Regions from separate parts of the Homo sapiens genome. Here all the other regions are linked to region 3. Evidence: promoter capture Hi-C in human tissues and cell types (Jung and others, 2019). All regions are on one chromosome and are shown on one strand. The core of a region is centred on a gene start or on the middle of the fragment in contact, and the rest is flanking DNA. Distances in the headings are between cores, read along the strand shown. Region 1 holds the start of ZNF134 (zinc finger protein 134). Region 2 holds the start of ZNF606 (zinc finger protein 606). Region 3 holds the start of ZNF71 (zinc finger protein 71).

The links. The method cuts DNA at HindIII sites, captures the fragments that hold promoters and counts their contacts. A contact is called where the count stands out against the background at its distance.
Region 1: a contact is called between the fragment with the promoter of ZNF134 here and the fragment with the promoter of ZNF71 in region 3, in 1 of the 25 tissues and cell types used here (dorsolateral prefrontal cortex).
Region 2: a contact is called between the fragment with the promoter of ZNF606 here and the fragment with the promoter of ZNF71 in region 3, in 1 of the 25 tissues and cell types used here (spleen).

Annotation. Positions count from the first base shown.
Region 1 is chr19:57,612,653-57,616,040 of GRCh38, forward strand. It overlaps ZNF134 (zinc finger protein 134), which reads left to right and starts at 1,590. Exons shown (of 3, transcript NM_003435.5): 1 at 1,590-1,851. It also overlaps a transcript of ZNF530 not described here. RefSeq lists an enhancer at 1,485-1,664 and a silencer at 1,795-1,844. The HindIII fragment of the contact is 8,655 bases long and covers 1-3,388 here.
Region 2 is chr19:58,001,556-58,004,745 of GRCh38, forward strand. ZNF606 (zinc finger protein 606) reads right to left here and starts at 1,265. Exons shown (of 7, transcript NM_001348022.3): 1 at 841-1,265. It overlaps ZNF606-AS1 (ZNF606 antisense RNA 1), which reads left to right and starts at 1,339. Exons shown (of 4, transcript NR_036508.1): 1 at 1,339-1,491; 2 at 1,656-1,781; 3 at 2,828-3,145. RefSeq lists an enhancer at 1,197-1,616. The HindIII fragment of the contact is 28,319 bases long and covers 1-3,190 here.
Region 3 is chr19:56,593,889-56,597,290 of GRCh38, forward strand. It overlaps ZNF71 (zinc finger protein 71), which reads left to right and starts at 1,414. Exons shown (of 4, transcript NM_001370215.1): 1 at 1,414-1,540. ZNF71-SMIM17 (ZNF71-SMIM17 readthrough (NMD candidate)) reads left to right here and starts at 1,414. Exons shown (of 5, transcript NR_163263.1): 1 at 1,414-1,540. RefSeq lists a silencer at 1,376-1,765. The HindIII fragment of the contact is 26,997 bases long and covers 1-3,402 here.

The DNA.
Region 1 (3,388 bases), core at 340-2,839, 1.0 Mb after region 3:
CCTGTGCAACACAGTGAGATCCTGTCTCCAAAATTAAATAAATAAATAAAATTACATTTTGGAGACTAAACGCTGCTTGTAGTCATAGTTCTAACACAGCTGTGTGCTCAGCTTCATTTGCTCACTTCTCAGAATTCAATGTCTCCTGCTCAAATTTTGCTGTCATCTTAACCGTTTTCACTTATCACAGATATGTTTCTCCAGGTCCATTTCGTCATGTATCTGTGAATAACTACAGAATTATTAACTTTGAGTAATTTGGCCGGGCGCGGGGGCTCTCCTGTAATCCCAGCACTTTGGGAGGCTGAGGCGGGCAGATCACGAGGTCAGGAGATCGAGACCATCCTGGCTAACACGGTGAAACCCCATCTCTACTAAAAATACAAAAAGTTAGCCGGGCATGGTGGCAGGCGCCTGTAATCCCAGCTACTCCGGAGGCTGAGGCAGGAGAATAGTGTGAACCTGGGAGGCGGAGCCTGCAGTGAGCTATGGTCGCACCACTGCACTCCAGCCTGGGCGACTGAGCAAGACTCCGTCTCAAAAAAAAAAAACACAAAACAACTTTTGAGTAATTTAAACAATTCACAAATGTTTTTGTCTTTCTTTCCCCATACACTCGCCCTTTTCTTTTTTAAAACCATAAATAAATCTCAATTCTCAATTCAGACACTGTCGGTGTAATTGCAGGTGAAATGAGAATCACCTCCCAGCCAAGAAATCTGATCCCAATTTTCCAAATCTTTATTTCTGGGTTCAGACACCACATTTTCAGCCCCTGTCTTGGCATATAAAAGCATTTATAATGGTTCTTCTTTTCAGATAAGAAACATCACCAAAAGGAAATAGATATATCTCAACTTTTGGGCTAGGAACTCTCATTTGGATAAAAGAATATTTCTCCTTTGGTTGGACATTAGTGACCATACAGGCAGGAAAGGTGCCTTCCTTGACCACCTTCTCTCGCCTGTCTTCCTCCTCATGGTTCTCTCAGGTATTTTTTTTCTGAGGAAACCAGAGGAAGAGCTCTATATTAGTCCACTTGCCTCAGGGAGCTCCAGCATCCCTCCATAGCCACTGTCTGGAGACCATTCTTCCACTCCATGGCCCTGCCTGGGGACAATTCTCTGTTAACTCTGACCCAACTGAGGCTCACAAAACTGACTCAAAGCTTCCCTCTACAGTACACATATTTTTTAAATGAAGGAAATTTGACTGAACTATGAGTGGACTCAGAGTGACATTGGATGTTGTGTGTCCATTTGGTGGTGTGGCTTCAGGGAACATCTGTAAGAATATATCCCAATATTTCGGGGATCCCTGCAGACCTCACTACACAAGACCTGGTTGAGGGTCCTTTAAAAGGAGCGAAGCCACGCCCTGACCTCAGAGTCTCAGGGCATAATTTCTCAGCGCCCCTCGCAGTACCATTTGGCCTTTGCCCAGCGTGCAGGGGAGTTAGCCGTCACCACGGCCAAGTGCACATGAGAACTGCATTGCCCAGAAACCTGTGCGCCGCCCGGCGGCGGCACTCTTAGGGGCGTCTCCCTGCGGACGGAAGCTCTCTGGGCGGGACTTCCGGTATCTTCCTCGCGGTGGACATCTTGTCGGCTCTTAGGTGGAACCATCGGAGCAGAAGCTCGGGGTTGCTGGGCGGTTCCGAGGTGACGGAAGCGGGAGGGTGCGGGAGAAGTCGCTGTTCGCTCTGCGGAGTGGCTCGCCAGCGAAGACCCCGCCTGCGCCCCCGGGGACGGACGACCGCGGTGCCAGGGTCCCGCGACCTGGGACCCCCTCGCGGCTCCGGGTGGTCTACGAACTGTGATGGCGGCGGCCGCGGTGATGGGCCCGGCGCAGGTGGGTGCTGCCTTTCCCAGACTTTCGCCCGCCCCAAATCCTGAAGTTCCAAATGAGGAGCGCCTGTCTGAGTCCCTGCAGCGCAGGCCCCAGTGTCCAAGGCAGCGGGGCGCTGGTGGGTGGGGGCGAGTGTGACTGGCAGAGGGGCAGCCTGAGCATAGGTTTGGAGCTGGACTGAGCCCGTAGCAGTCGGGAGCGTGTGTGAACCGTAGTCAGGCCTGCAATGTCGAGGGGAGAAGTTGCTCCTTCATTGCGAGGACGATAGGAGCCATGGCGGGTTTTGAATGGTGGAGGGAAGGGATCCGAAAAAGGATTTTTAAAGTATTCCAATGTTTGCTGAGGAGGAAACCGACTACAGTGAGGTAGAAACGATGAGGATGGAGGCAAGGAGACGTTTGAGGAGGTCCCTGCAACAAACTCCAGAAGTGTTGCGGTGGTGGCTGGGCCAGAGCAGTGGCAGGAGGGGTTGGGTGGGGAAGTCATGAGATTCTGGGTAGATTTTTAAAGATGGAACCAATGGGGTTTCCTGCCGCATCAGATGTGGTCGTGAGTGAATGTAGGGAGGAAAGGGCTATCCAGGGTTTTTTTGGCCTGTTTTCCTTCCTGAACGTGTGAAAGAATGGAAATTGGTAAGTCACAGCAGGGAGCACGTTTCAGGGGCATCAGGAATTGGGTTTTGGACTTGGTGAATCTAAGGTGTTCTGCACTGGAGGTTCATCACGGGTAGCTGAACATGCAGGTCTGGGGTTCTAGAGAGGGAGTTGTGCTAGAGACTTCAATGGGTGAGGCATAAGGTCAAAGCCTGTAGTAGATCAGATTTAGAGGGTGGAATTTCAAGGAAGTTATTTTGTGTGGTCTCTGAAGTGAGAGGTGGGTTTAGGGTGGAAGGCCAGGGATGAAGGGGTGGACACTTAAGATTCCTTCCAGAAAGGAGGGGTCCTGGCATGTGAAAGCATTCTAGATGGTGTTGTTGGAAGTCAATGCTTGGTGCTGCAAAGTGAAACCAGCACTCAGGCAAAAGTTTTCTCAGCAAGGCAATTTACTTCTGTGCAAGTGTGCTGCCTGTGTTAATCACGATCCCAAGAGCACACTGAACAAAGGAGGGAAGGGGTTTTTATCTCTAACCCATAGTCCCTACCTTCCTCTGTGTCACTCCCCCATGGGCTGGGGTCGGACCGCTTAATCTAAGCTGAGCCAATTGGGTATTTGTGAGTATTTTCCAAATAAGGAAGAGGGAAGGGGAAGGTGAGTTACAGTGGTGGGACATGTGAGTTGTGTAGGACGTGTGGTTTTGGCGGGGGCAATGGGTGCAAAGTGAGTAAGGGAACAGATGTGAATTATTGGTTAGTGCTTACAGGAAGGTTGTTTATAGTAACTAGGGGCAAGGAGGCATGGAGAACAAGAAAGGTTTGAGAACAAAGAACAAGGAAGTTAACAGGCTAAACCTTTGAAGAGGAATTTTATTATATCTTATAGTGTCAGCAAGAGGAGAGGGCTGTAGAGCATAAGTAGCCTGGCCTGCACTGGAGACCAAGGT
Region 2 (3,190 bases), core at 15-2,514, 1.4 Mb after region 3:
CTGGAAAAAAGAGCATGATCCTGAATGAGAGGGTACAAATTTGTCAGCTATTCCCAAGAGACAGCCAGTCACAACACAGATGGAACTTTTGGATTAATCTGACAATTATTGTAAAATCAACTTGCAATCCTCATATATTAGTGGTTGCCTAGAGCTGGGGGAAAAATGAAATGGGGAGTGACTGCTTAAGGGGAACAAGGGTTTCTTTGTGGGGTGATGAAATGTTCTAAAATTAGATAATGGGGATGATTGCACAACTTTATTAATATACAATAAAACCGGTGAATTGCACACTTTTAAGTGCTTAAAGTGAACATTATGTTATGCAAATTTAATCCCACCTCCAAAAAAAATTCACCTCCAAGATTTACTAAGCCTAAGCTTGTGTGTGTGTGGAGGACTTAGAGATGGGCCTGGCGCCCAGACCCCTAACTCCTCAGGTTCCAGATCTTTGTACAAGTCAGCAACCTCTCGAATGGATTCCTGGGTATGTGTATAAAGCACTAGAACACACAGTGGGCCTCAGGAGCACCGGAATCAGCGCGAAAACGCAGAATGCAAACCGTACTTTGCACCATTATTTGCAACTTGACAGTGACCGCCGCCGTCACTGCATGTTTAAGGGAACCCGGAGCTGTTTCCAACCCAGGTCTGACGTCCTTCACAGTGCTTTGTGTGAACTGGCAGGGGGAGAAACGACGGCTGGGGAACGAACGGGGTTATTCGTCCCATCAATGGCCTCAGAAGCATCCTTATCACCTGCTTCCAGAGCTCCCGACCCAAATTTCCTCCTCAAGACCGACGCGGCCGCGACGCTGCAAAAGCTCGTCCCGGCCTCACCTGGCTCGCGGCCGGCGGTCCCCCTTGAAGGCGGCGCAGCAGGATCGGGGTCTGCCCGCCTGGGGCGTTTGGCTTTTGTCCCGCGCCGAGGTCCGGCCCAGGAGTGCGCTTGGGAGCTCCCGGCGCGGCCTCGGGGACAAAGGCCCGCGGAGCCGACGTGCAGCAGAGTTCACCCAGGCCCGTCCGACCAGAAAACGAAGAACGCCCGGAGGCGGGAGGCCGGAGGCAGGCTGCTGGCTGGAGAACCGACGGCAACGACGGCGCAAAGCCGGCGCGGAAAGGGCAGGCGCAGGACCCACCCTGACGCCGCCTCTCCCAGCCGGCTCTCCTGACCCCCCAAGCCCCGCAGCTACGGCGGCCCCACAGCCTGAGCAAAGGCCTCACCTCAGCCGCGGACAATGGCGGCTGCTTCCCCGGCGTCGACCGGAGCGCGCCGCGGGGTCTGCTGGGAGCTGTAGTTCCAGGCGGGCACTTCCGGCGTCGGGCAGCGGCGCCGCCATGACAGGTTCCTGGGCCGCGCCGCCTCGCCCTGCCTGGGCGGGGTTGGGACCTTTCTGGCACCTGCGTCGAAGCCGGCGGCAGGATGGACTTTGTTGTCCCGGTCCCAGACCACCCTCCTCCACCGTCGCCTCCCACTGCAAAAAGGCCTGGGTAAGTCGCGGCCCCGCGGGCCTCGGTTTGCCCATCCGCAAAATGGCGCCTCGTGGTACCGGGTTTCCCGGGAGGAGCTCGGCGAGTTCTCAGCGCTCTCGAGGGATCCTTCCATTTGGCGTTCGCAAGATTGTGAGAAAGTGACTGCTGTTATTCTCTTTAAGATAAGGAACCTAATTCGAGCTACCCTTCTCTGTGAAGCTCGACGGCTGAGAACGTCAGGGCTCGTTCCCAAGTCTCTTTCCAGAGGCCAGGCTTTATGGGAGCATGGGTTACCAGCGACGCACCCTGTGAGTTTTCCTCTATCGATATGCATGGAGCGGTTCGGGAGCGGTGGCTCATTCCTGTAGTCCCAGCACTTCGGGAAGCTGTGGCGGGAGGATCAGTTGAGTTCAGGAGTTCGACACCACCCTGGGCAACATAGCGAGACCACATCTCTACAAAAAAAATACAAAAATTAGCCCGGTGTGATGGCGCGCGCCTGTAGTCCCCGCTACTTAGGAGGTTGCGGTGGAAGGATTGCTTGAGCCTGGGAGGTCAAGGTTGCAGTGAGCTATGATCGCACCACTGCACTTCAGCCTGGGCAACAGAGCAAGACCCGGCATTAAAACAAACAAAAACGGGCCGGGCGCGGTGGCTCACAGCTGTAATCCCAGCACTTTGGGAGGCCAAGGCAGGTGGATCGCCTGAGGTCAGGAGTTCCGAGACCAGTCTGGGCAACATGATAAAACCTCGTCTCTACTAAAAATACCAAAAATTAGCCGGGCTTGGTGGAGGGCACCTGTACCCAGCTACTTGGGAGGCTGAGGCAGGAGAATCGCTTGAACCCGGGAAGCGGAGGCTACAGTAAGCCGAGATCAAGCCATTGCACTCCAGCCTGGGCAGCAGGGCAAGACTCTGTCTCAAAAAAAGGGACTGAGGGACTGTAGGTGGTGATACCAAAGAAAGCATGGCCATTTAGGAAGCTAGACTTGAGTGAGCAGTGGGCAAGAGAGATTTTGAAGATATTTCCACTAGTAATGGAGGATCATTTTAAAAAGCTGGCCTGTGGGTTGGGCTTTTGTTGTTGGGTGGTGTTGGCACTCACTGTGGGTGGGCAAAGGGGAGTAGCCCTTTCAGAGGGAGAGGAAAAGTTCAAGTAGGACAGGCTGAATTCAAGGGAGAGGAAAATTTCAAGTAGGACAGGCTGAATTCGAGGGAGAGGACCATGAGAGAGGTAAGGTGGAAGGGGCAAGGTGTTGGGACAGGCCCCAGCTGGCAGGAAGGTGAACCCAGTCAGAGTGGGCACTGAGAGGAAAGCAATCTATGGATGGTACAGCCACAATTTCCATCTCAGGATCAAGCAGAGAAAGAGAGGCTGGAGAAGGAAGAGTGACAGAAGTAAGAAGAGAGTGTCTCTCCACTTCCACTCCAGCCCCCTACAGCTCATCCTCCAGCAGGCAGCCAAGGGCACTTTTAGGATCTCACATCAGGTCCTTGCCTCACATTCTGCACTGGCTTCCCAAGTAATTAAAGTAAAATCCAAATTCCAGCTCACAGCTTAGAAAACTCAGCAGGACTGGCCTCTGTCCTATCCCACACCCCACCTCAGTCCCTCAAGCTCATCTCCTGTCATTCCTGCCCATTTCTGGACCCCAGCCACTCCTCAAACAGGGTAAGTCCATTCCTGCTTCAGGGCCTTTGTACGTATTGTTTCCTC
Region 3 (3,402 bases), core at 164-2,663:
AAGATATAGGGAATTGACATTTAAAGATCTAGTTGTTTTTTATTTGCAATTCTAGAATCCAGCCACACCTCCTTCTATAAAATAGAACTAGTGTTCTGGTGATCCAAGCAGAGGAATATGGCTTCATACACAGAAACGGGCTGAGGAAAGCAGAAACAGAGAACAAGAGTGGATGGGTCATTTCAAAGTTACTTTCCCTATCATGGTTAAAGCAAAGGGGATTTCTTTTATCATGCCTGCTAAACTGGCCTGTTTGGGACTTGGCTATTATCTCTCTCTTTCTCTCCTGAGAGGAGGTCAGGTAACAACTTAGTTGGAGTTGGTGGCCTGGAACTTCAGCATGAGTAGCTCCATTTCGATTTGATCTGTTGGGCCTAGTGCAGGAACTCAGTCCAAACCGATAGTCTCCTATACATTTTATTCTACACCTATGCTCATTTTCTTCTTTGCACATCTGTATGCTTAAAAAGTGTTCTTTAAAGATAAGCATGATTATCAGGTTTAAAGTTGCCTGGGATGGTCCCTCAGGCCAGTCCATTGGCTGGACTGCAGAAATGTCTGCAGCAGATGTGACACGCCTCTTTTATCCCCCTCATTTCTCTGCCTCCACCCATCCCTTGTCCTTTTCTGTTTTCCTTCCTCCCTCCTCCCTCTCCTTACCCATTCTTTCCTCTCTTCAGCCTGTCCTGCCCTCCCCAACTCGACTTCCTCTTTCTTTCCTCCTTTTCCCACCCTTTTCTTCTTCCTTATAGTCCTTTCCACCTTCTCATCCCCCTTTCCACCCTTTCTTCCTTCTCCTCCTTGCCGTCTCCATTCTCTTCCTTTCCTGCCTCCCTGCCCCTCCCTCCTCCCACCCGCTCCCTCTTCTTTCTGTTGGTTCCTCTCCTCTCTGACCTGTTCTTTTCCCTTAGTCTCTCCCCAGCCCTTCCTCCTTCCCCTCCATCCTTCTTCCAACCCCTCCTCCTTCTCCATCTCTTCTTCTTCCTCCCCAGCTCTCCTCCCCAAGTCCCTCTCCATCCTCTCTCTTCTCCCCGCTCCTCCCCATCCCTCCTCCCCTTCCATCCTTCTTCCCACCTCTCCTACTTCTTTTCTCCCTCCTCCCCCCTTCCCTCCTGTCCCTCCTCCTCGCCCCTCCTTTCCCTCCGTCTTTCTTTCCACCCTTCCTCCCTCCGTCTCTTCTCTCTCCTTCCCTTTCCCTGCCTCCTCCCCCTCAATCCTCCCTCTCGCCCCAGCCTCCTTGGCCGCGGAGTCCTCTGTGAGATGGAGGAGCTCAGTTGGCTCCGCTCGGCTCCACTCGGCTGGGCTCGGCTGAAAAAAGCCGGGGGGAGGTGGCGCGCGCGGGTTTCTGGGAAGCGTAGTCCGGCGCAGTCCGCGCAGGCGCACTGCCGTCGGGCGGGCCTAGCGGGCGCGGTCATTGTCCTGGCAGAGCGGCGAGCCGGTGAGTGTGGCTGCGGGGTCGCGCCCACCCTCTACCTGTGCCGGGGGCCGGAACCTGGCCCCGGGGAGGGCGCGGCCTCGGGGAGACGGCGTGCAGGCCCAGGTACGGGGAGTGCAGGGCTGGGTGCTGGTCCAGGGCGTGCGGGCGCAGGAGAGGGCGTGCAGGCCGGGACCGAGGTGCGCCTGGAGAGGCTGAGCGGCCGAGGAGAGGCTGAGGGGAAGCTGAGGGGCTAAGGAGAGGCTGACTGGAGGCTGAGGGGCTGAGGAGAGGCCGGGGCCAGGGAGGGAGAGGCGTGAGTGGGTTGGAGGTAGGAAAGTTGCATGAACACGAGGGCCATCCTGGGGGGAAGGTGGCCTGTGTGAGAGACAGGCAGTGCATATCATCCTGAGGATGAGGCTGTGTCTTTGTGGATATTGTGAATGTGTCTGTGTGTGTGTCTGTGTGGGTCTGTATGTGTGTGTGAGACAGATTGTGTCGTCCTGAGGGTATGGCTGTGTCTCTGGATATTGTGATTGTGTGTGTGTGTTTGTGTGTGTGTGTGTGTGTGTGTGTGTGTGTGTGTATGAGACAGAGAGAGAAACTGCGTGTCGTCCAGAGGCTGGGTCTGTGAATGAATGTGAATGTGTCCATGTATGTCCGTGTGGGTCATGTGTGGTAGCGTGTGTGTGTGTGTGTCCCACTTCTTCAGAGTCTTGGTCTCTCTGTGGAGCTGTGTCTCTCCAGGTCTCTGCCTATGCATGTGTGGTGATATCTCTGAGTGACTGCCTGTGTCCTTGTCTTTGGTGTTGTGGGTGTGTCAGCCTTGATCTCTGTCCATGAGTGTCTCTGTGGGAGGGTGCCCTCTGGGTGTCCACTATGTCTGCTCTTTCCATGCATGTCTCTTGGCATGAGTGTAGGGCTGTGTCTTTCCAGGGGCCAGTCCTGTCTGGATCTTTCCTATCTCTGTGTGTCCACCTGTGTCTAGAGTATTTCTTGATGTTTGCGTGTGACTCTGCAGGGGTGGGTGCGTCTGGGTGTGCCTCTTCCAAAGACTATATGCCTGGACAAGGGAGCCTAGCAGAGCCACTACCTTCTCACCCTACGCTTCTCCTAGTCTGCCTGCCCACAGTTCCCTGGCTTTTTCCTGCCCATAGAAGGCTCTGGAGGCGTAGGGGCCTGGGAGTGACAGGGGCCGGGTGGAGGAGGGGAAAAGGAAGGCTGTTTCTTCTGCCTCCCACAGGATCTTCTTAAAGTGGGATCAGACTCCCAAAGGGTCTCTGTGCCCTACTCTGTTCTGACCAAGGAGAGGTTGATTTGTTCAGGGAATGTGTATGCAGCCAGTGCTGGCCATTTATAGATGTCCCAGTAACTCTGAGGTAGAGACCATCATCATCCTTATCTTACAGATGGGGAAACTGAGTCTCAGACTAAGTGACTCACCCAAGGCTACCTCAGGCATCCAGGTTCCAGAGCCCCCACAATTAACCACCAGACAAATGGGAGATCCCTTTTTTCCCTTTCCGCTCAGCTGACACAAGGTTGCAGGATTTTCCCCGAGGGAATCCCCGCTTGGAAACAATGGAAATGGAAGAAAGGAAGGAAATGCCAAAAAGCTCAGAGGAAGAAGAATCCAGATCTAAGGCCAAACTGGGTTCAACAGCCACTGGCCATACTCTTGGGCAAGTCACTTCCAGGGCCGCTGCATGATTTTTAAGGGTACTTTGCCTTCATGGGCCCCTTGCTCCATTGTTTTTTTAAAGCACTAAAAATTACATTTTGTTATTTCATTAATAGGAAGACAAATGTAATCTAGGCTGGATTAGATATTTTCTTATGATTTTAAAAGAAATTAAGACCTTCCTATGGGCCCCTAAAGGTTTCATGGGCCCCATGCTCTGTGCCTACTGGGTAAGTGGGCTCTGGTCACTGCTGTGATCTGGCAAAATGGGCCAGTGTTCTTGACCTCACAGGACAGGGGTGAAAGA